Regions from separate parts of the Homo sapiens genome. Here all the other regions are linked to region 2. Evidence: promoter capture Hi-C in human tissues and cell types (Jung and others, 2019). All regions are on one chromosome and are shown on one strand. Each heading gives the region's core, a stretch centred on a gene start or on the middle of the fragment in contact. The rest is flanking DNA. Distances are from core to core; before and after follow the strand shown. Region 1 overlaps LOC107986933 (a long non-coding RNA gene). Region 2 holds the start of EBF2 (EBF transcription factor 2). Region 3 overlaps LOC107986933 (a long non-coding RNA gene). Region 4 overlaps LOC107986933 (a long non-coding RNA gene). Region 5 overlaps PPP2R2A (protein phosphatase 2 regulatory subunit Balpha). Region 6 overlaps LOC107986933 (a long non-coding RNA gene).

Region 1 (3,435 bases), core at 506-3,005, 390 kb after region 2:
GGGTTTATTATCCAATTTTACAGAGGGAAACTAAAGAAAGAGGTGACCTGTGCAGAAGTGCTTTTAAAGGTATAGGGAATAATTTGCTGTGCATGGTAGCATGCACCTGTAGTCACAGCCACTCAGGAGGTGAGACGAGCACCTAAGCATGGGGAGATTGAGCCTGCAGTGAGCCATGATCACACCACTGCACTCCAACCTGGGTGACAGATTGAGACCTCGTCTCAAAAGAAAAATAAAAGAAAAGATACACGGAGCTGTAATCAATCATAAAAATTTAAAATGTTTTACTGTTAGAACTGTCAACTACAGACACTTTAAAAACAAGAATTAAATATAGATAGTTTTAAAACACAAACCAGTCTGAGAAACCAGTAAGACACACAATCTTTGGAAAAATATTTGCAGGGGTGAGAGGGTTCCTGTATTCTTTCCTTTATTCTTGGCACAGGGACACAATAGTGAACAAAAGGCCGCAAACTCTCTGCTCTTATGAAGCTTATATTCTTGTGGTAGACACAGATGATGAACAAATACATTAGTAAAAAACAGAGTACAGTCATCCCTAAGTATCAGTGGAGGATCAGTTCCAGGAACCCCATGGATACCAAAGTCTGAAGATGCTCAAGTCCCTGATATAAAATGGCATAATTACACCTGAAATCCCCACACTTTGGGAGGCTGAGGCAGGCAGATCAGTTGAGCTCAGGAGTTCAAGACCAGTCTAAGCAACATGGCGAAACCCCGTCTGTACAAAAAATAATTTTAAAAATGGCATAGTGAGGCAGCCAAGATGGCTGAATAGGAAGAGCTCCAGTCTACAGCTCCCAGTGTGAGTGACGCAGAAGACGGGTGATTTCTGCATTTCCATCTGAGGTACCGGGTTCATCTCACTAGGGAGTGCCAGACAGTGGGTGCAGGACAGTGGGTGTAGTGTACCATGCGCGAGTCGAAGCAGGGTGAGGCACTGTCTCACTCAGGAAGCACAAGGGGTCAGGGAGTTCCCTTTCCTAGTCAAAGAAAGCAGTGACAGACGGCACCTGGAAAATCGGGTCACTCCCACCCTAATACTGCACTTTTCCGATGGGCTTAATAAATGCTGCACAAGGAGATTATATCCCGCACCTGGCTCAGAGGGTCCTACACCCACGGAGTCTCACTGATTGCTAGCACAGCAGTCTGAGATCAAACTGCAAGGCGGCAGCGAGGCTGGGGGAGGGGCACACGCCATTGCCCAGGCTTGCTTAGGTAAACAAAGCAGCCAGGAAGCTCAAACTGGGTGGAGCCAACCACAGCTCAAGGAGGCCTGCCTGTCTCTGTAGGCTCCACCTCTTGGGGAAGGGCACAGACAAACAAAAAGAAAGCAGTAACCTCTGCAGACTTAAATGTCCCTGTCTGACAGATTTGAAGAGAGCAGTGGTTCTCCCAGCATGCAGCTGGAGATCTGAGAACAGGCAGACTGCCTCTGCAAATGGGTTCCTGACCCCTGACCCCCGAGGAGCCTAACTGGGAGGCACCCCCCAGTAGGGGCAGACTGACACCTCACACGGCAGGGTATTCCAACAGTCCTGTAGCTGAGGGTCCTGTCCATTAGAAGGAAAACTAACAAACAGAAAGGACATCCACACCAAAAACCCATCTGTACATCACCATCATCAAAGACCAAAAGTAGATAAAACCACAAAGATGGGGAAAAAACAGAGCAGAAAAACTGGAAACTCTAAAAAGCAGAGCGCCTCTCCTCCTCCAAAGGAATGCAGTTCCTCACCAGCAATGGAACAAAGCTGGACGGAGAATGACTTTGATGAGGTGAGAGAAGAAGGCTTCAAACGATCAAACTACTCCAAGCTACAGGAGGAAATTCAAACCAAAGGCAAAGAAGTTAAAAACTTTGAAAAAAATTTAGATGAATATAACTAGAATAACCAATATAGAGAAGTGCTTAAAGGAGCTGATGGAGCTGAAAGCCAAGGCTCGAGAAGTACGTGAAGAATGCAGAAGCCTCAGGAGCCGATGTGATCAATTGGAAGAATGGGTATCTGTGATGGAAGATGAAATGAATCAAATGAAACAAGAAGGGAAGTTTAGAGAAAAAAGAATAAAAAGAAATGAACAAAGCCTCCAGGAATTATGGGACTATGTGAAAAGACCAAATCTACGTCTGATTGGTGTACCTGAAAGTGATGGGGAGAATGGAACCAAGTTGGAAAACACTCTGCAGGATATTACCAGGAGAACTTCCCCAATCTAGCAAGGCAGGCCAACATTCAGATTCAGGAAATACAGAGAATGCCACAAAGATACTCCTCAAGAAGAGCAACTCCAAGATACATAATTGTCAGATTCACCAAAGTTGAAATGAAGGAAAAAATGTTAAGGGCAGCCAGAGAGAAAGGTTGGGTTACCCACAAAGGGAAGCCCATCAGATTAACAGCGGATCTCTTGGCAGAAACTCTACAAGCCAGAAGAGAGTGGGGGCCAATATTCAACGTTCTTAAAGAAAAGGATTTTCAACCCAGAATTTCATATCCAGCCAAACTAAGCTTCATAAGTGAAGGAGAAATAAAATACTTTACAGACAAGCAAATGCTGAGAGATTTTGTCACCACCAGGCCTGCCCTAAAAGAGCTCCTGAAGGAAGCACTAAACATGGAAAGGAACAACAGGTACCAGCCACTGCAAAATCGTGCCAAATTGTAAAGACCATCGAGGCTAGGAAGAAACTGCATCAACTAACCAGCAAAATAACCAGCTAACATCATAATGACAGGATCAAATTCACACATAACAATATTAACCTTAAATGTAAATGGACTAAATGCTCCAATTAAAAGACACAGACTGACAAATTGGATAAAGAGTCAAGACCCATCAGTGTGCTGTATTCAGGAAACCCATCTCACGTGCAGAGACACACATAGGCTCAAAATAAAAGGATGGAGGAAGATCTACCAAGCAAATGGAAAACAAAAAAAGGCAGGGGTTGCAATCTTAGTCTCTGATAAAATAGACTTTAAACCAACAAAGATCAAAAGAGACAAAGAAGGCCACTGCATAATGATAAAGGGATCAATTCAACAAGAAGAGCTAACTATCCTAAATGTATAGGCACCCAATACAGGAGCACCCAGATTCATAAAGCAAGTCCTGAGTGACTTACAAAGAGACTTAGACTCCCACACAATAATAATGGGAGACTTTAACACCCCACTGTCAACATTAGACAGATCAATGAGACAGACCCAGGAATTGAACTCAGCTCTGCACCAAGTGGACCTAATAGACATCTACAGAACTCTCCACCCCAAATCAACAGAATACACATTTTTTTCAGCACCACACCACATCTATTCCAAAATTGACCACATAGTTGGAAGTAAAGCTCTCCTCAGCAAATGTAAAAGAACAGAAATTATAACAAACTGTCTCTCAGAC
Region 2 (3,658 bases), core at 896-3,395:
TGAGGGGTAAACTGTTGGGGCTTGGCCCAGGCCCACTGCTGACCAGAGGCCTCTCCGGGTGCCCTGCGCACCTTTCCGGGGCAACGTGGAGGTACAGCTGATCAAAGCCCCCTTGAAAAAAAAATCACCGGGCTCATAGGCATGTCTTGAAGGGCTCACGGCTGTTCCACACTCTCTGCCAAGGAACTCAAGGCTTTGGCCCCGCTGGGCGCAGACCCCAGACGAAGGGGGTGGGGGGGAGTTGCTTGAGGTTCGGAGAGATTTATAAAGAGAGACCGTAGAAGACTCCAGGTGATCAGTTTTTGCTGGGACCGAAATTCTCCGTAAAACCTGCATGTAACAGAGAATTGCCGAGTTGAAACAGGGCAGTGAATCTCATCCCTACAAATTTCCCTCCCTACCCCCTTCTTCCTTTGGACACTCCTGTCTTACTTGGCTTTTACTAGCCACCCGATCCATTTCCCAATCGCCCTGTATGGCTCTCCCGCCCCTTCCAGTCCAACAGGGAGGACCAAGCCAGAGCTCTGGGGTCGGGGTACCACAGTCAACACAACCCAGAGGCGGGGGGTTTACCTTCTCTACCTTCCCCCAAATCAATGACCCCAGTCCCTGGATCCCGGGGCCTGTGCAGAGACGGTCCGTGCACCCGCCCCGCAAACTCCCTAACCCCCTATCCGTTTTCAAGCGAATCTCCGCAGTTCGGACCAGCACTTCCTAGTCGCAATCCCGCGCACGCAGCGTGGTGCCGCGGTTTGTCCCTTGGGGAGGTGGAGGCGCGCACCGGTCCCTTTCTCGAGAGAGCCGAGTTTTCTTGAAGTGCAAGCTTCCTGTCAGCCTAGGCAAACCAGTTGCAAGGCGCTGTGTCCTCTAGCGGCAAACTCTAGCAGTTCATTTGCGAGCGCTCACCTACACCTAAGGGATCTGGTCTCTCAAATCTGAGACCCAAGAGGGGAGAAAGTGCCCTGAACGCAGTCCAGGCGCTCGCAAATGCCCTCCCCGTAATGAGACCGGGAGACTGGGGCGCAATCGCTCGAACTACGAACAGCTGATTGTCTCCTCCACGGCAGATGGTCTTTGAGCACAGATTTGCATTCATTGTCTTCAAATCTGTTTTCGCGCTGGTGTTCTAGATTTCAGCAGCAGCAGATCTATGCGCAGATCAGAATACAAAAGGAGAAGCAAGAAAATGACACCCAGCCAGGAGGATGTTTAATAGGCACCGCGAGCAGCCCCGCGCAGTTAAAAAACCGTCTAGGGTTTCAGCTGTTCGGTGAGGCTGCTGCCACCGCCTGCCGGCCACCAGCCCGCGGCCAGCACCGCGGCGACCGCGCGCGGTGGGCGAAGTTTCCACGACTCCCCCGTCCCTCCCCGCCCACTACCGGGGGCTTCGGGAACGGAGAGGTGGGGAGGGAACCGGAGGACCCGCGGGAATACTCCCCGGCCGCTCGCGCACTCAGCCCGCCTCGATCTGTCAGCAACCTCTCCTCCACACGGGTGCGACTGCCGCTCGCGCCCGCCCGCCCGCGGGTGTTTTCCTTAGGTCCTGGACCGTTTTCCCCAGCACTGTATTTGAGCAGCACTTGCCCCTCGCTTGTCCGCCCCACCCCATCCCCCGCCTTCTTTCATATGTTCTCCACTCTCAGCAACGTGCAAGCCGCACACAACATCTGATATCACCATGGAACTCCAGGAGACCTGGGGAGCCATTCAGGGAGCTGGGTGCTCTGGGGGACGTTTGCGCAAAACATAAGCACATGTGGCCACGCTCACAAGCATGCACACAGATCCGAACCCCGGGAACGAACGTGCCTCCCGGCAGGCTACAAAAGCCTACATCTAGAGGCAGGATCCAGGGAGGCTTCCCGCAGCCAGGCCGAACCCCTGCGTCCCCAGCCCGCAGAGACCTGCTACCCTAAGTCAGTGCAGGGTGTGGGGGCCCCCCAATCCTGCGCAAGCACACGGGGTTCGTGCTAGGACTCGACGCCCGCAGCTTTCTGTCCCCTTTCACCTCCCGGAGTCCCGGCAACGCAGAGCGTGGCGCGCGCCGCCGGAGGACGTCGGCCCGGCTTGCCAGGCGCCGGCCAATCCCGCGCGTCCATGCAAATGAGGCTCCTTATCGGGCCGCAGCTCCGCCTCCCGCAGCCAGGGCCGTAGTAACCCATTCATGGGGCCCGCGCGCGGCTGCAGCCGGGCTCCGTGGCGCTCGCAGCCACCGCCTCCTCTCGGCTCCAGGTCTTCCCCTTCTTTTTACAACTGATCCTGTTGGGGATTTTTTTTTTTTCTAAATTGGAACGGTGGGGAGGAGCAGGGAGGGGGGACCTGGAGGAAGGGGAGAGATTAGGCAGCCATCAATTTCCTCCAGTTTCTCCCAGAACAGGTGATGCTTCTAAATTGTGATCACTTTCAGGAGGCAGCACTGCAGCTGGAAGGATGCGAGCGACCTAGGGTGGAGTGGCTGAGGCGGCAGATCTGAACTTGCGGAGGATAAGAACCCAAACTTTGACTACATCAGTCCGCACCTCGCCAGTGAAGCAAAGGACGGGTTATCTTTTTTTTTTTTCTAAGACTCAAACTTGGGCACTTGATCCCTTTTCTTGGATTGCTTTGGAGGAGACGATTTGCTGGCAACGTTGGGAACAGTCAGGACTGTGTTGTAACTCTTACTTTTAAAGCGACAGTAGAGGATCAGACTTTTTAAATGTTTGGAATTCAAGATACTTTAGGAAGAGGACCAACTCTGAAAGAGAAATCGCTGGGCGCGGAGATGGATTCGGTCAGGTCCTGGGTCCGGAATGTCGGAGTGGTGGACGCTAATGTCGCCGCGCAGAGGTAACGACACGGCCGCGCAATTATTATGCTGTCTCTCGCTCTTACGGTCTGTCTCTCCGTGTGCACCCCCCCCGCGCACCCCGTGCCTTTCTCTCTCCCTGTCCCCCCATCTGTCGCCCAGGCCCTGCGCGCTGGGGCTCGCCCTCGGGCAAGCAGATCGCTGCAGTCAGGCGAACGCTCACCCGGCAGCCGGCACTCGAGTTCCTGAACTGCCTGGGTCGTAGGCGTTTCTCTCCCTCTCCTTTACCACAGTCCACTCTTTGCAAGGAAAAATAAAGTAGCCCCCAACATCTCCCAGCTCAGCCCCTAGTCCTGCAAGCCGAGCCGGCCTGGCCCCGAACGGAGCGTGAACACCGGCGCTGGCAGTGGCGGCGCGGGAGGAAAGCCGGCTTCCTGGCCACTCTTGGCTTCGCCACGCCGCCTGCGAGCGCCTACCTCCCGCATCTTGCTGGGCGATTCCTGGAGCCTGGGAGGCCGGCGGCCAGAGGGTGGCGGCGGCGAGGGGAGCGGGAAAAGCCGGAGCGGCTGCCCGGGAAGACGAGGCGGCCGGGAGCTCTGGGAGGGGGGACAGGCTGGAGGGTCCCGGCTCAAAGATAAAACAGTGAGCCAGACGAACGGAGCTAGGGAACTGGAGAAAAGAAGAGATTTAAAAGAAGAGAAAATACTGAGTCACAGTAGAAAGAGTTGCGGAAGAAGAAAGAGGCGAGAAAAGGCCACCAGCAGCTAGACTGGCTCAGGGATCGCCAGCCTCTGGTTTTGCGGATCCCTGAAGTTGACTTTGTGTTTAGGCGTCTGCGTGCTGGGATAGTAAATACCATGTCCGGGGTGC
Region 3 (3,273 bases), core at 197-2,696, 360 kb after region 2:
GACAGTAGAAGACAAGACTGTGAAGAACTGCACATCAGCTCATGCTGCATTGTCCAAAGCAAGTCAGATGGTCATGCCTAACCCAAGGGCATGGCAATATACAACCCTCCAGGTTCCAGGAGGGAGCAGAGAACCAGAAATATGGGGGAGATGCACTGTTTATCTGCCACACTGCTGAAAGGCTGTCCTCTCATCCACAAGTGCAGGGAGAAGCCTCATTGTCGACCGGACTGTTCATCTAAGAGTCAAGATGAGAGTCTGAGGCCCTTCTTGGCCATTTCTTAGCTATGTGGCATCATGGAAGTTGCTTGGCCTTGCTGAGGCTGCGTTTGCTTATCAATGGAATGAGAAAAAAGCTGATTCTGCCAACCTCACAGGGTCATTGTGGTGGAAAATTCAAAGTAGGCAATGAATGGGAGTGTTTCTCCACAAAAATGTGTTACTCTTAAGTGGTAGTTTTTCAAGTCATGTTTTCCCTCGTGTGGAAGGCAACGAATAAAAACAAACAACAAAATCCTAACCAGTTTCAGGCATCCTGAGTTCATATCCTCGGTCTCCCCTCTCTAATAAAGTCATTTGATCTCTGTGAGCCTCAGTTTACCCATCTATCAAATGGGTGGTGATGTTGGTCCCACATATCCCTATATGAGACATTGAATGCAAAAGCACTGTATAAACTGTAACAATCTCTACAAATGCAGAGAATCTTTATCCTCCCTTCCTTCTTGTACCCGGGATCTCTCCCCTTCTATTCACCTTGCAGTCTTTCAACTTCTCAACAAGGTCTCCAACCCTTCAAAGGGCCTTTATTCAGGCTTAATCCCTCTCCCTCACACATGTGCTTAACTTTCCACAGCATCTCTTCTTTGTTGACCATCAGACGTGCTGAAAATAAGGCTACACCCATGCCTGGTCTCCATTCCTACCTTCCACTGACTCTCCAGACACTTCCTATTTAGCTTCTGCCCTATTTGTGAAGAGTGCTTTCTAAAGGTTGCAGAATCTCTCCATTAAGTTTCTGTGAGTTTTACATGTCCTTGACCTATCTGCAACATTTGACAGCAGGGACCACCATCAAGCCCCACCTAATCTGACTCATTCTACATCCTATCAGCTCTATTCAGGTCCTGCTGGTTGTCTCTACAACACGTCTCTGTCTTATTAATTCATTCACTGAGACTTTGCTCATGCCCATCTTGGACTTTCCTCACTAGCCCACTTGATGTTTTAATGTTTCCATTTGTTATTGGCTTTATTCCTGAAACAGCTGTCATCCATCTCTTCCTCTCCATCCTCATTGCTCCTGCCCTGCCCAAGCCCCCAGTCATTTCTGGTGTGAACTTGCTCCCGTAGTTACCTGACTGGTTGTTCTTCATTCTGCTATGAAATGAGAGTGTAATATTTTATCTATCTACCATCAAGGCTTATTGTAAGAAGAAAATTGATCTGTGAATTTAAAGAAAATAAACTATATTTATTAAATATAGTTCCTTTCCTTCTCCCTGATTAAAACACTGTCTAGTTTCCTTTCCAGGATTTGATTGGTTACCATTCACCTGTGAAAAAAAAAAAAAAAAAAAAAAAAAAAACCCTTTCAAGCTTCTCTGTTTTCTTCAAACTCTGGTCCAAATATCTCTTTCCAGCCTCATATTTAGGGACTCTCACACCACTTCCTCATGTCTCTATCTATAAGAGACTATGCAGTGCTCCCCAAAAATGCCACCCACCTGTATCTAGATTGCACTCTTTCCTCCCTCTGGAATTTATTTCTTCTGTTCTCTGAGGGAAAAAAAAAAAAATCCTTTTGTCCCCTCCGCATCTCGATGTAAACATTAAATCCCGTACAAAGCTTTCTCCAACCCAAAGCTCCTACTCCCAGGAGCAAATCATTCCTCCTTAGCTGTATTTTCCTGCACTTGATCCCAATTTCTGTGGAAATGTAGCATTGGTCCCTTCTTACTAGAGTTACTGTGTGACTTGGAGAGTGAGAATAGAGCCAGGCTACCAATAAGGAGACAATTCACTAAAATGCATCACAGGAGGCAAGGGGGCCTGGAAACAGAAGAGCAAGGTAAATGAGATAAGAAGGCCACATTGAAGAGGAGCAGAAGAAAACAGGTCGACAGCTCAGGGGTAAATGGAGTATTTTCTGCTAGAAGGCTGGGGTCACGGGGGGAGCAAAATGGAAAGCGGAAAGGGATTAGTGAGAAAGGAATCTGCCAGTTGTGAATGAAGTGGTATTCATCCCTGATTTCTTGTCTGCCTATTAAATAATGTCATATGTGATTTTTGCTGTTAATTAAAGATCCTCTTATAACTAGAGTTTGCCAGCCCATGCCTGCGGGGAGGGGGTTAGACTGTCCATTGTAATGTAGATCATGCTAGATGGGCTTCATGAGCTAATGTAAGTGAAGTAAGATCCCTCCAGCCAAGGCTCCTGTGAGAGGGCAGATATGTGAGTTGAGACTGCTTTAGCCTGCAAGCTCCCATAAACAAACAGCAGCTGAAATGATAAGGGGTTTATTTCTCTCACAAAGCAATATCAGCATAGCAGTCCAGGGCTGGAGTGTGCACCGAGGAACCAAGCTCTCCCCTCTCTTTCTCTTCCAGCCTTGGAGAGGGCTGCCAAGCTCAAGCCCCACACTCACAACAGGGAGGAGGAAGAAAGAAGAAAAGAGGCCTCACTTCTGTGATGTTTCACCGACAACAACTGCAGCCAGAACACAGTCACTCCAGACTGCTGGGGAATTTGGAAGGCGTGTTCGGATCTTTCCAGACTTTATATCAGAGAAAAGCAAATGAAGAATACACTGGAAGTGTAAGCTACCCTACATCACTGCCACAGCTGGCTTGAGACAAATTCTAGGATTGCCTGTCTTTCCTCTATGTTCTGCATCCCCTGAATACAGGGGTACTGGTTTAGTAATCACAAAACAAAATAAGCAACACCAGAGACCCAGTGGTATGTATTAATGTTCAATTAAGTATTTGTTGAGTTAACATCTCCTTGAAGGAAGTTATGGGAATTAGTGCTCTATAGGTAAAAGTTCATGGCCAAGATGAGTCCCGCTGAACAGAGAATGTTCCTAAAAGCCACTGAGCAAAGCTACAGTGGAATCACTATTTCAGTGGGGATTTATTTCTACCTAAGCCTACTTCTAAAGAGATTGAGATCATATTGCATGATTAAAACAATCTATGAGCCATGCCAAGTAGAAAGACAAGTATCAAAGAGGGGGTATGTGTAGCTGCAGATTCTGGACATTAAAATAA
Region 4 (3,555 bases), core at 419-2,918, 410 kb after region 2:
TTCAGTCCAAGGAATGGTAGGAGAGAGAGGCGGGAGAAGCAAAGGAAAAGCAAAGCAAATAAAACATTTTAGAAGAAAGTAAAAATCAATGTTTAAAGAAAATTACAGCCGGGCACGGTAGCTCACGCCTATAATCCCGGCACTTTGGGAGGCTGACGTGGGCAGATCACTTGAGGTCCGGAGTTCGAGACCAGCCTAGCCAACATGGCAAAACCCCATCTCTACTAAAAATACAAAAATTAGCTGGGCATGGTGTGGGCGCCTGTAATCCCAGCTACGCAGGAGGCTGAGGCATGAGAATCACTTGAACCTAGGAGGCAGAGGTTGCAGTGAGCCGAGATCACACCACTGCACTCCAGCCTGGTGACAGAGCAAGAGACTCTGTCTCAGAAAAAAGAAAATTACAATAACTATGCTCAGTATGATAGCTATTTTAAGAAGTACATTATTATATATTGTTGGAGACATCTGTGAGTGGTAAAAGTATGAAAATATCCACTTAAAAACCCTTGGGGGCCAATCCCCGGTAGTATAGTGATTAGGAAAAACATATATATTGGGGGCCAGGCACAGTGGCACACTCCTATAATCCCAGCACTTTGGGAGGCCAAAGCTGGAGGATTGTTTGAGCCCAGGAGTTCAAGACCAGCCTGGGCAACATCGTGAGACCCTTTCTCTACAAAAGGAAGGAAAGAAAAGGAAAAAATGTTGGGTATTGGGGGAGGGAAGGAGATGAATGAGATGGGAAGGAAAGAGTGGGCTTCTGCTGTCCCTATCACACACACTTTATTTCTTTATTAAGATATGAAAAACACTATGGCAAATTGTCATATATATTAAATATAGGTAAATAAGCTCATAGGCATCTATTTTCTGTATCAATTTATATTTAAAATATTTCTTAATTAAAAGGCAATACAAATAGCATTGGCAAGAGTTCAGGGAAATGGTACTCCACCTCTGTTGGTAATAAGCCTGTATAAATTTGGAGAGGGAATTTTGACAATATGTACCCAAAGGTTTTTAAAGTGTTCACATACTTTGATGACGCAATAACGTTTCTAAAATTTAAAAAGAAAACACGTGCACAAAGATTTAACTACATAAATGTTTGCTATAGTTCCACACATATAGAAGCAAATATATACACATAGAAACGAAAATAGAATGTCTATTATTTGGACATCAGTAAAATATTCAGAAGTATTGCACAGTTAACATAAATCATTAATTAGGGATAGAAAAGGTCTTAGGCCTCTAAGAATCTGATAAGTTATGTGTCCCCTCCGGAGAAAGGCAGATGTACATAACGTAACATAACACAACATAACATAACATAACACACCAATTTGCAGACAATTTCAGTGGGTCCCAGAGTACTTAAATCTCACACCTTTTATTGTGGAAGGAAAACCAGCTAACTCACTCCTAATTCTCCTTCAGGAACCCCATCCTCTAGGCAGATTTTCCATACCCTGCCTTCTCCATCTTCCTCAGCCTGGGACAGGTACCCCTTCCTTAAGAACCTATGCAAATCTGTACCCTGAACGGCATATATCTTGTATCATGATTTTCTATTTATTTTCTGTCTTCATCAGTGTCTTTGAGAACCAGGTACACAACTCAATTGGCTTCACGTCCCAGGACAGCACAGATATAAATATTTGTTGGCCAGATTGAGGCAGGAGGTAGGACTTGACTCCAGAGGCAGAGCTCGGACACCTGACCAAATTGAGGATTAGCTAAAACAGGGATAAGGTGGAAGTGGTTTTCCATAAGACACACCTACCAGTGTGCCATGTGAGTTTACCATTGTCATGGCAACATCTGAGAGTTACTGCCCCTTTCCATGGCAATGACTTGACATCTAAAAGTTATTACCCCTTCCCTAAAAATTTCTGCATGTACTGCCCCTTAATCTGCATGTAACTAAAAGTAGGTATAAATATAACTGCAAAACTACCCTGAGCTGCTACCGTCAACACACTGCCAACGGGGCAGCCCTGCTGTGCAGGAAACAGTCATGGACTTGTAACGCTGCCACTTGAATAAAACTGTTTTCTTCTACCCTACCACTAGCTCACCCTTAAATTCTTTCCTGGGTGAAGCCAAGAAACCTCGTGGGCTAAGCCCCACTTTGGGGCTCACCTGCCCTGCATCAAGATGATCAAATGAATGTTCCTTAAGGAGAGCGACACGGCCATGTATTGCTTCTAGATAATGCTTCACATAGGGAAACATTTCTCATCTATTTCTTGATCCACAATCAGTATCAACCACCTCTCTAACCAGGTCATACACACACCCCAGCCTCTGCAGCTTGTCTTTTGAAACACACTGGATTCTAAATGCAGCCTTATCTGAAAGAATGAGACGTAACATTGGCTGCATATAAATTGCAAAGAGGAGCCAGAAAAGCAGGGCTGCAGCTTCCTGCACGGCTCAGCTGCCGCTCAGCTCGCACCCAGACTCAGCAGTAACTTAGTCAAATTAGCAGCAGCTTGTTTTCATTCCAGAGGACAAGCTTTCCAATCCTTTCTGAAGTTATTTCCCTTCCTCTCCCTTCCCGTTATTCCCTATTTTCATCAAGCAGAGCCCTTGAATGCGTTTCCCCGCCAGCTATTCAAGAGGCCGTTCCCCCTGGAGCTGGCGACACAGAACTTATTAACAAGCAAACAGAATGAACTGGCTCGCTCTCCTCATAGTGAAATTCCTCTGCCACCGATTTCTCAGACACTTCCCTTTAGGGTTTTCCTGCGGAGTCCCATTCATTTAGAGGAAATGTGGAAAACTGTTTAATGTTTCTTGTTGTAAGCAAATGCTGGTAAATGCCGATTACATGTGGAGAGTGAAATGCCTCTCTCTGACTTGGCTTCCAAGCCCATCTGGTGGGCCTGGCAAAGCGTGTTTGTCGCTCCCCACACATGCAACTGTCATCATCATCGTGTGGGGAACAGCGAGGACTTTAAGATGGAAACCTTTAGCTCTGTTAGCATGCCTAGCCTTTATTTTGCACGTCAGTGAAGTCACTTTCCCATTCCTTGCCTTGGTTTCCCCAAATGTAAGGTGGTGACAAGTATCTTGGTTTTTTTACCTATATGATTCAACACGAGTCAATGGAACACACTTTTTTGCATCTATTTTGGGCTGCAAAACATTGTGCAGACTACAGAGTAAGCACGGAAGAATTCCTATCATTATAGATTCCAAAGAGAGACTGGGAAATAACAGTGGTAGAAAACTCTGAGCTTGAAATGATGAGATAAGAGAAGTATAAAATACTTGGGTCTGCTGTCCCCATGTAGGGGAGAGACAAGTTAATTACTCAGAGGAGAAAAGGGTAAGTCTATCCCATCCTGGGTTTTGTTTTTATTTTTTAATAAAAATACCAAAAGGATCTTATGTTTACACTTCCTTCTCTAATATACTTCAGAGAATAGGGCTTTAGAGAGCCTTCGTCCTGAGAAGGGGCTATTATTCCGAGGGTAAAAGAAAAATGGGAAAGGACCCTTTCCCAAGCCTCTCCTTTCAGTAAACGAAGCAAAGAGAGTCATA
Region 5 (3,566 bases), core at 596-3,095, 270 kb before region 2:
AATGCTGAGTAAAAAAATTAAGCTACTAGGTCTCCCTTACCCTTAAAGAGAGGCTATAAGCTGCCTTGCCACTCAAAGTATAGTCTGGGGACCACCAGCAGCAACACCAGCATCACTGGGAGCTGATCAGAAATGCAAAAATCACAGGATCCCCCACAAGACCTAAATGCACCATCATCATCTGTATTTTAACCAGATTCCCAGGACATTCACATGCACATAAAGCTAGAGAAGTGTTGATTATCAGGCCAATACAACTCTTTTAACAAAACAGCACACTTCTGAATAAGGAATTGAGGGGAATTAAGCATGTTCACTGGTATAATAACATTTGCTTTCCATTTCTATTCTCTTCAGACTTCTGGAGAATTTTCCAAGGGCTCTAAATATATTTGTCAGCCTACTTGAAACTCTGATAAAAGATTCAGATCATCATACAAACAAGTGAGTAGAAGAACGAGGAGAAAGAGAAAATATTTATAATGTAAAAAATATGCTATTTACAACGTTGCCCTAGGTAGCAAGGGGAGCCAATAGCAGGGTGTTTTAGAGCCTCCGTGTGCCTGACACCATCCCTTCAGATGTTCCCAAACTCCATCCCTCCCTGCTATGAGAAACTGACACCAATAGTGAAGGGTGCTTTGGACCCTCCTGCATGTTCTAGGTGCACCCCACCCCACCCAATTATATTACTCTTGAGGGAAGATGCAGAATATATAATTATAGGGAAGAATAAAACACTGGAGGAACTGGAGAAAAAAGGGAAAACAAGAGAGAAAAAAAGAAGCTTGAATTTCTGTTGTCACACATTATTTTTCGTTCATTGTTTCAGAGACAGGGTCATGCTACGTTGCCCAGACTGGAGTGCAGTGGTTGTTCACAGGCATGATCACTGTGCACAACAGCTTTGAACTCGTGGCTTCAAGTGCTCCTCTCACCTCAGCCTCCCAATTAACTGGGATTACATGCTTGCACCACCGTGCCCGGCTCAGCACAATAATTTTAAATTAGTCAAATTAATAGTCAAAGTGCCAGACCCTAAACTAATCCCAATTCTGATGAAGCTGGGAAACTAATCTCTCCCTAGTTTTACCAAATGCCTAACTCAACCAAGCTGAAATGTTAGTCATTAATGTAACGTATATTTATTGGAAGTGCCTAAAATGTGCCCAAAACCTCAAAAACTAGTTGATCTCAATTTGTGGACCGGAATAGGCTTTTATTCTTCTGCTATCAACTGTTAATTCTGTTAATTGGGTATCAGATAGAAAAATAACTACATCAATTAAATGTTCTGAGGCTTACTATGTGCCAAAACTAAGCATTCATGTATATTTAATCCTCTAAATAAAAAGACAAGTACTATTATTCCCATTTACAGATAAGAAAACTAAAACACAGCAATTCTCAAATGTTTGTTTCCTTACTCTCTGGTTTCCTTTGCTTGAACAAAAAAGAAAAAAGAAAAAGGAAAAAAATCCACTTCATTTAGGAAGTCTTTCCCATGTAATACAGACCCAAATTATTTCTTTGAGCTTCCCTCCAACATTCCTCCACTACAATGTATGATTCAGAAGGGGAAAAGGGCTGTGATACTACAAATAAATTTAAAAAAGCATCACCAAAGAAAACTAGACAAAGAACACAAAAAGGCTCCAACATTTGAACGTGCTCAAACAAATAACTGGAAAAGATTTTTCTGAATGGTGAATATTGTGCCAGGTATTGTCAAGAGGTCAGGAAATGGCCACTCCCATTCACTATTGGAGGAAGTGAAAAATCAACACCAACTTTCTATGGTGATTTGGCAATAAATACCATAAGCCATTAAAAAAAAAAAAAGGAAAAAAAAAATCACACCTTTCGACCCAGCAATCCCATTTCCAGATAATATATCCTAAAGCAATAAGATTCTCACAAGGATGTTCATCATGATCTTTACAATAGCAAACATTATAAACAATCTAAATGTCTAAATGAAATACATTAGAGATCCAATTAAATATCATACAGCCATTTATCTTCTCATATATGTTAACTGGAAAAAAACATAATACAAAACTGTACGTCTGATAACAGTTTTGAAAATACATATTTGCTGTGGAAAAAGAACTATATGCTGGAAAGATCTATGCCCAAATATTAACAGATATAATATAAAAATTGCGAGATTATACAGGCATACTTTTATTGTGCTTCATAGACACTGTGTTTTTTTTTTTTTTTTTTTGAGAGGGAGTCTTGCTCAGTCGCCCAGGCTGTAGTGCAGTGGTGTGATCTCGGCTCACTGCAACCTCCGCCTCCCGGGTTCAAATGATTCTCCTGCCTCAGCCTCCCGAGTAGCTGGGACTACAGGCGTACGCCACCACACCCAGCTAATTTTTGTATTTTTAGTAGAGGCGGGATTTCATCATGTTGGCCAAGATGGTCTAGATATCTTGACCTCGTGATCCGCCCGCCTCAGCCTCCCAAAGTGCTAGGATTACAGGGGTGAGCCACCACGCCTGGCCGAATGGCACCATTTTTCCAACATGTGCTAGCTTTGTGTCTCTGTGTCACACTTTGGTAATTCTTGCAAAACTTCAATTTTTCCATCATTATACCTGTTATGGTCATCTGTGACCAATGATCTTTGATATTACTATTGTAATTGTTTTGGAATGCCATGAAGCACCTCCATAAGACAGCAAATGTAATTCTTAAAAATGCTGCGTGTTCTGACTGCTCCACCTACTGGCAGTTCCCCTCTCTCTCTCCCTCCTTGGGCCTCCTGGAGACACAATACTGAAATTAGGACAATTACCCTATGGGCCTCTTAAGTGTTCAAGTGAAAGGAAGATAATTTAATTGATAAAGGTGACTACACTAAACAACAGATTTTCAAAGTCAACTAAACAGCTCTGTATTAACAGCCCTGTATTCAAAGAAGATACCACCTAGGACTCTCATAGCTGGAAAGGAGAAGCTGATGCCTGGCTTCAAAGCTTCAAAGAACAGGCTCTTTTGTTAGGGGCTAATGCAGCTGGGTGACTTTAAGTTGAGGCCAATGCTCATTGACCATTCTGAATTCTAGGGCCCAAATCTACTCTGCCTGTACTCTAGAAAAAAGCCTAGCTGAGAGCACATCTGTTTATAGCACTGTTTACTAAACATTTTAAGCCCACTGTTGAGACCTACTGCTTAGAAAAAAGACTCATTTCCAAATATTGCTGCTCATCCAAGAACTCTGATAGAGAGGGACAAGGAGATGTTGTTTACATGCCTGCTAACACAATATTCATTCTGTAGCCCATGGATCAAGGCGTGATTCTGACTTACAAGACAATTGTTAGCATTATTAAAGAAATATAGGCTGCGCATGGTGGCTCACTCCTGTAATCCCAGCACTTTGGGAGGCCAAGGTGAGTGGATCATTTGAGCCCATGAGCTCAAGCCCAGCCTGGACAACACATTGAAACCCCAACTCTACAAAAAGTAGAAATATGAGCCAGGTGTAGTGGCGCACACCTGAAGCCCCAACCACTTGGAAGGCTGAGGCAGGAGAATCACCTGAGCCCAGGAAGTCA
Region 6 (3,510 bases), core at 109-2,608, 300 kb after region 2:
TTGCCTGGCTGACCCTTTGTTCCCATTGAGAGAGAACATCCTGACCCAGCATCCCACTCACCCTGGGAGCTAAACTATTAGCAGTTGATTTATTTCCAGTCTTAATGTAAAGTATATGGAAATGGAGCTGGAGTAGGAGTTGAGAAAGAATATTGTTTATTAAGCAATGACCCAACACCATGCATTGAAAGAGCAGTGACTATTTAAAAATTACCCCAAGGCTTGCCTATGTTGGTGTGTTTTCCCTTTGCATTCCTGGGGCCTTGCAAAAAAGAGTAGAAGAAATGTAAACAATTACAGGTGCTTTATGAATATTGAAGCAAAACAAAATCAGCTAGAGGTGGGGTGAGGGAGGAAGGACTTTAAATTTAAGACACTGTTATTTAGAAAGTTTTTGAAATAAAAAATTTAACTTCTTCCAGGTTCATAAGTCTGTCTATCAGAAGCAAAGGTATTTTGAGCTTCCAAAGTCTCACTGAGGGTCCTTCCTGGAGCCCTGGGTGGGTACCCTTTGTACTTTGAGCTTTCCCACCATTTCCCTTATTTCTTGTCTAGAGGAATTTGAAGTGGTAACATAAAACCCAGAGAAAGAAACCAGTTTTTAATATGCAAACCACCGAGACTAAATCTGGGCCTATGAGCCTCTGAGGCTTCATAAAAGGGAGGATAACGTCAGCTTAGGCCTTACCTCAAACCACAAGACATTTACTTTCTGATTTATGGTCTAGGCTGGACCAGTATAAGTTATCAAGAAGGATCATGTTCCATCGCTATTTTTTAAAATGTAAAATAAAAGTAAGAGGACTGAACTTGCTCAGTTCCTTCCTTTTTGGTTAATGGAATTGCTCATGGAGGTGGGGAGGCAGTTAGACGCCAAAGCAATCCTTTAGAACAACCTGGGTTTCCTTCTCAGATTTGCCATAAGTTGACCAAAGGATCACAGTCAGGTTTCTCTTACTCTCTGGGAGTCTCACCTTCAGCCTCAGTCACGAGGTGACTGTGCCCTGTACTCTGCACTTGGCGGAGTCCTTTCTGGCCCTTGTCCTGTGGAGGAGTCCCCAGAGCCAAGGTGACATGCCTACTCTCCATGGGAATTCCTTTCCCAAATGGCCCCTCATTCACTTCCAGGGCATGTACAGCCTCTGACCCATGACTGTCCTCCCAAGTGGTAACTGACTCACCAATGCCCTTATCCTTTCCCCAAGGGGTGGTCAAAGGGCAGTTATTTGCAGAGCATGTGAATGGAGCTTGGCCATGTGGCTATCATGTTAATGTGTCTGTATATGTGCAAACAGGGTGCCACAAAGACCAGAAATATCTGGGGGAAGGTAAGGAGATAAGAGAGCCAAGTTGGTGGCTGAGGGTTGGTTCTTCCAGGGCTGCCAAGAAATCCCAGAACTCTAAAATGCAACCTAGCCTTCCAAATCTGCTAGGGCAAATTTTGTTTAATATTTTTAAAGCTTGGGTTATAAATTGTAACTATTTAGACATATGTGGGCCACCACTTTTATCTTTGTTTTGGGCACCACAAATATGGAAATAGGGCATGTCTCCAGAACACTTCCCTTTTTCCTTGATCATAAACATCCTGACTGTCACAAACAATGGGGTTTTGAAGGTATTTAGAAACCTCCAGAACCTCAAACCATTTTTATTTCTCTCCTTTCAAGTTTCAAGTGGTTACAAAAGGCAGTTCAGAATTTGTTCCTGTTGATGACTAACTCATGGATTACAAAAAGCTACAGAATGTATAGCAAACTGTGAATTCTCTGTAGTGGTATGTTTTAAAAATTCAATATAATTTATTAATTTTTCACATTCATATTACATATTTTGCTTCTATGCCCATGCAGGCAGAAGATCATAAGTAATTGTTTTTCATTTATACAACAGAACTCCATTGGGTTTCCATAATGGGGCCTGTAATGCTATATGGTATAGATATACACAACTAACTAAAAAACAATGTCATAACAGCTGTTAAAAGAAGTGTGTCTTCAGTATCATGGAAGAAGAACGTTAAACTACTCAGTTAAAAGTAGCTACCAAGAGGTGGCTCACTGAATCTCAGGACTGGAGAATATGTTTAATCCCAGCACTAGCACAATAAATAAAACATTTATTTTTGTGATCACACCACCGTGAAGTTTTAGAACACTGGGAAAAACAGAAGATCTTAAAAGCTTCTAAAAAGAAAAATCAGGAGTATTCACGGGCCAGAATGGCCCTGGACATTTTAACACTAAGACTGGAGGAATGCCATCAAAATAATAAGGAAAAATTTTTTCCAACCTAAACTCTATAACTGATCAAACTATTAACTCAGGATAAAGATAAGCTGAATATGTTTTCAGATATGTAAGTTCTCAACATATACACGTTTACTGAAGGGTACTAGAAAAGTTGCTCCGTTTTTAAAACAAGAAGATCAGCTAATAAAGATGTAGACACTGGGCTTACGTAATGAGGAATTCAATATGAGAGAGGTGTTATATAATAAAAGAAACCCCTAGAATACAACAAAGAATAGCCCCAGGAAGGCAGCTAACAATAGGCTTGCAACCAACGGTCAGGAACTAACTAAATAGAGAAGAAGGTTTCTGCAGTAATGTTTCCAAGTAGATACAATTGCTAAAAATACTTAATGCATTGAGACATATTGAAAGAGAATTTGAGGCTGAATCAGAGATAAGACCATAGAAAACGCAGTACATCAACAAAACAAAACACTTAGTAAATCTAGGGAAAACAAATGCTTGTTCAAGAAAGGAAAAAATAATAGTATTCTATGTGGCTCAGCTGTGAACAGTATTTATGTACTCAATTTAAGCACTGATGATAGATCTAGCCAAAATATATATTTATTTTGGGAGAATGGAAACATGAATAACTGTGCATGCTTTTGCTACTAGTAGAGTGATGGGGATGAAATGGCTAAGATCTCATCTTCCTTAATGGGTAGGTCATATAATGCCTAAAACTAAGAAGTCAAGAAATGGCACTATGGGTAGCTATTTAGATATATGGAGCTAAATATCACAAAAAATAAAAATTCAGTTGTAAGTGGTTGCCTCTGGGGAAGAGGACATCAGTGACAAAAGGAAGCAGATGTATGGACTATGTGTTGTACAATAAGTCTGTAGAGGAGGAAATTATTATCCTAATTTTGTAGAGGAAGACATTCAGGCTTAGGGATGACAAGAATGTGGCTGAAGTGAAACTTGAGTCCAGCTCTCCTAACTCAAGGTCCTTTCCTTGTGTCATGGCTGATTTCTAAAACGGCTCTCTGAGCCTGAGAATATTTTATAAATTCAAGATTGCCTTACTCCTAGGATGTCGGTAGAAGTGCTGTTATTTGGTGGTAGGGTTGGGAAGGAAGTTAGTGATAATCTGGCTCAATCTCATTCTACATATAAAAAACATGGGTCTCAAGAAAGATTTTTCAGGTCACCAACATATTATTAAGTGCACAGAAGGGTACCAGTGGGAAATCACTGACTAAATTTCTTT

Evidence for each region. The method cuts DNA at HindIII sites, captures the fragments that hold promoters and counts their contacts. A contact is called where the count stands out against the background at its distance.
Region 1: a contact is called between a fragment that was not itself captured here and the fragment with the promoter of EBF2 in region 2, in 1 of the 25 tissues and cell types used here (H1 embryonic stem cells).
Region 3: a fragment that was not itself captured here is called in contact with the fragment with the promoter of EBF2 in region 2 in 2 of the 25 tissues and cell types used here (H1 embryonic stem cells and neural progenitor cells).
Region 4: a fragment that was not itself captured here is called in contact with the fragment with the promoter of EBF2 in region 2 in 2 of the 25 tissues and cell types used here (H1 embryonic stem cells and heart right ventricle).
Region 5: a fragment that was not itself captured here is called in contact with the fragment with the promoter of EBF2 in region 2 in 1 of the 25 tissues and cell types used here (bladder).
Region 6: a fragment that was not itself captured here is called in contact with the fragment with the promoter of EBF2 in region 2 in 2 of the 25 tissues and cell types used here (bladder and mesendoderm cells).

Annotation. Positions count from the first base shown.
Region 1 is chr8:25,658,296-25,661,730 of GRCh38, reverse strand. The region is part of intron 1 of LOC107986933 (a long non-coding RNA gene); the gene reads right to left. Among named protein-coding and RNA genes, the nearest start is that of CDCA2, 200 kb to the right of the region's middle. RefSeq lists an enhancer at 1,047-1,733. The HindIII fragment of the contact is 3,456 bases long and covers 28-3,435 here.
Region 2 is chr8:26,043,900-26,047,557 of GRCh38, reverse strand. It overlaps EBF2 (EBF transcription factor 2), which reads left to right and starts at 2,145. Exons shown (of 16, transcript NM_022659.4): 1 at 2,145-2,829. The coding sequence starts at 2,699. The HindIII fragment of the contact is 15,996 bases long and covers 1-3,658 here.
Region 3 is chr8:25,678,907-25,682,179 of GRCh38, reverse strand. The region is part of intron 1 of LOC107986933 (a long non-coding RNA gene); the gene reads right to left. The region is part of intron 2 of LOC105379333 (a long non-coding RNA gene); the gene reads right to left. Among named protein-coding and RNA genes, the nearest start is that of CDCA2, 220 kb to the right of the region's middle. RefSeq lists an enhancer at 2,073-2,646. The HindIII fragment of the contact is 3,399 bases long and covers 1-3,145 here.
Region 4 is chr8:25,630,487-25,634,041 of GRCh38, reverse strand. The region is part of intron 1 of LOC107986933 (a long non-coding RNA gene); the gene reads right to left. Among named protein-coding and RNA genes, the nearest start is that of CDCA2, 170 kb to the right of the region's middle. The HindIII fragment of the contact is 3,835 bases long and covers 1-3,555 here.
Region 5 is chr8:26,308,945-26,312,510 of GRCh38, reverse strand. All of the region lies in intron 2 of PPP2R2A (protein phosphatase 2 regulatory subunit Balpha), which reads right to left. Among named protein-coding and RNA genes, the nearest start is that of PPP2R2A, 19 kb to the right of the region's middle. The HindIII fragment of the contact is 4,201 bases long and covers 1-3,566 here.
Region 6 is chr8:25,742,907-25,746,416 of GRCh38, reverse strand. All of the region lies in intron 1 of LOC107986933 (a long non-coding RNA gene), which reads right to left. Among named protein-coding and RNA genes, the nearest start is that of CDCA2, 290 kb to the right of the region's middle. The HindIII fragment of the contact is 6,087 bases long and covers 1-3,510 here.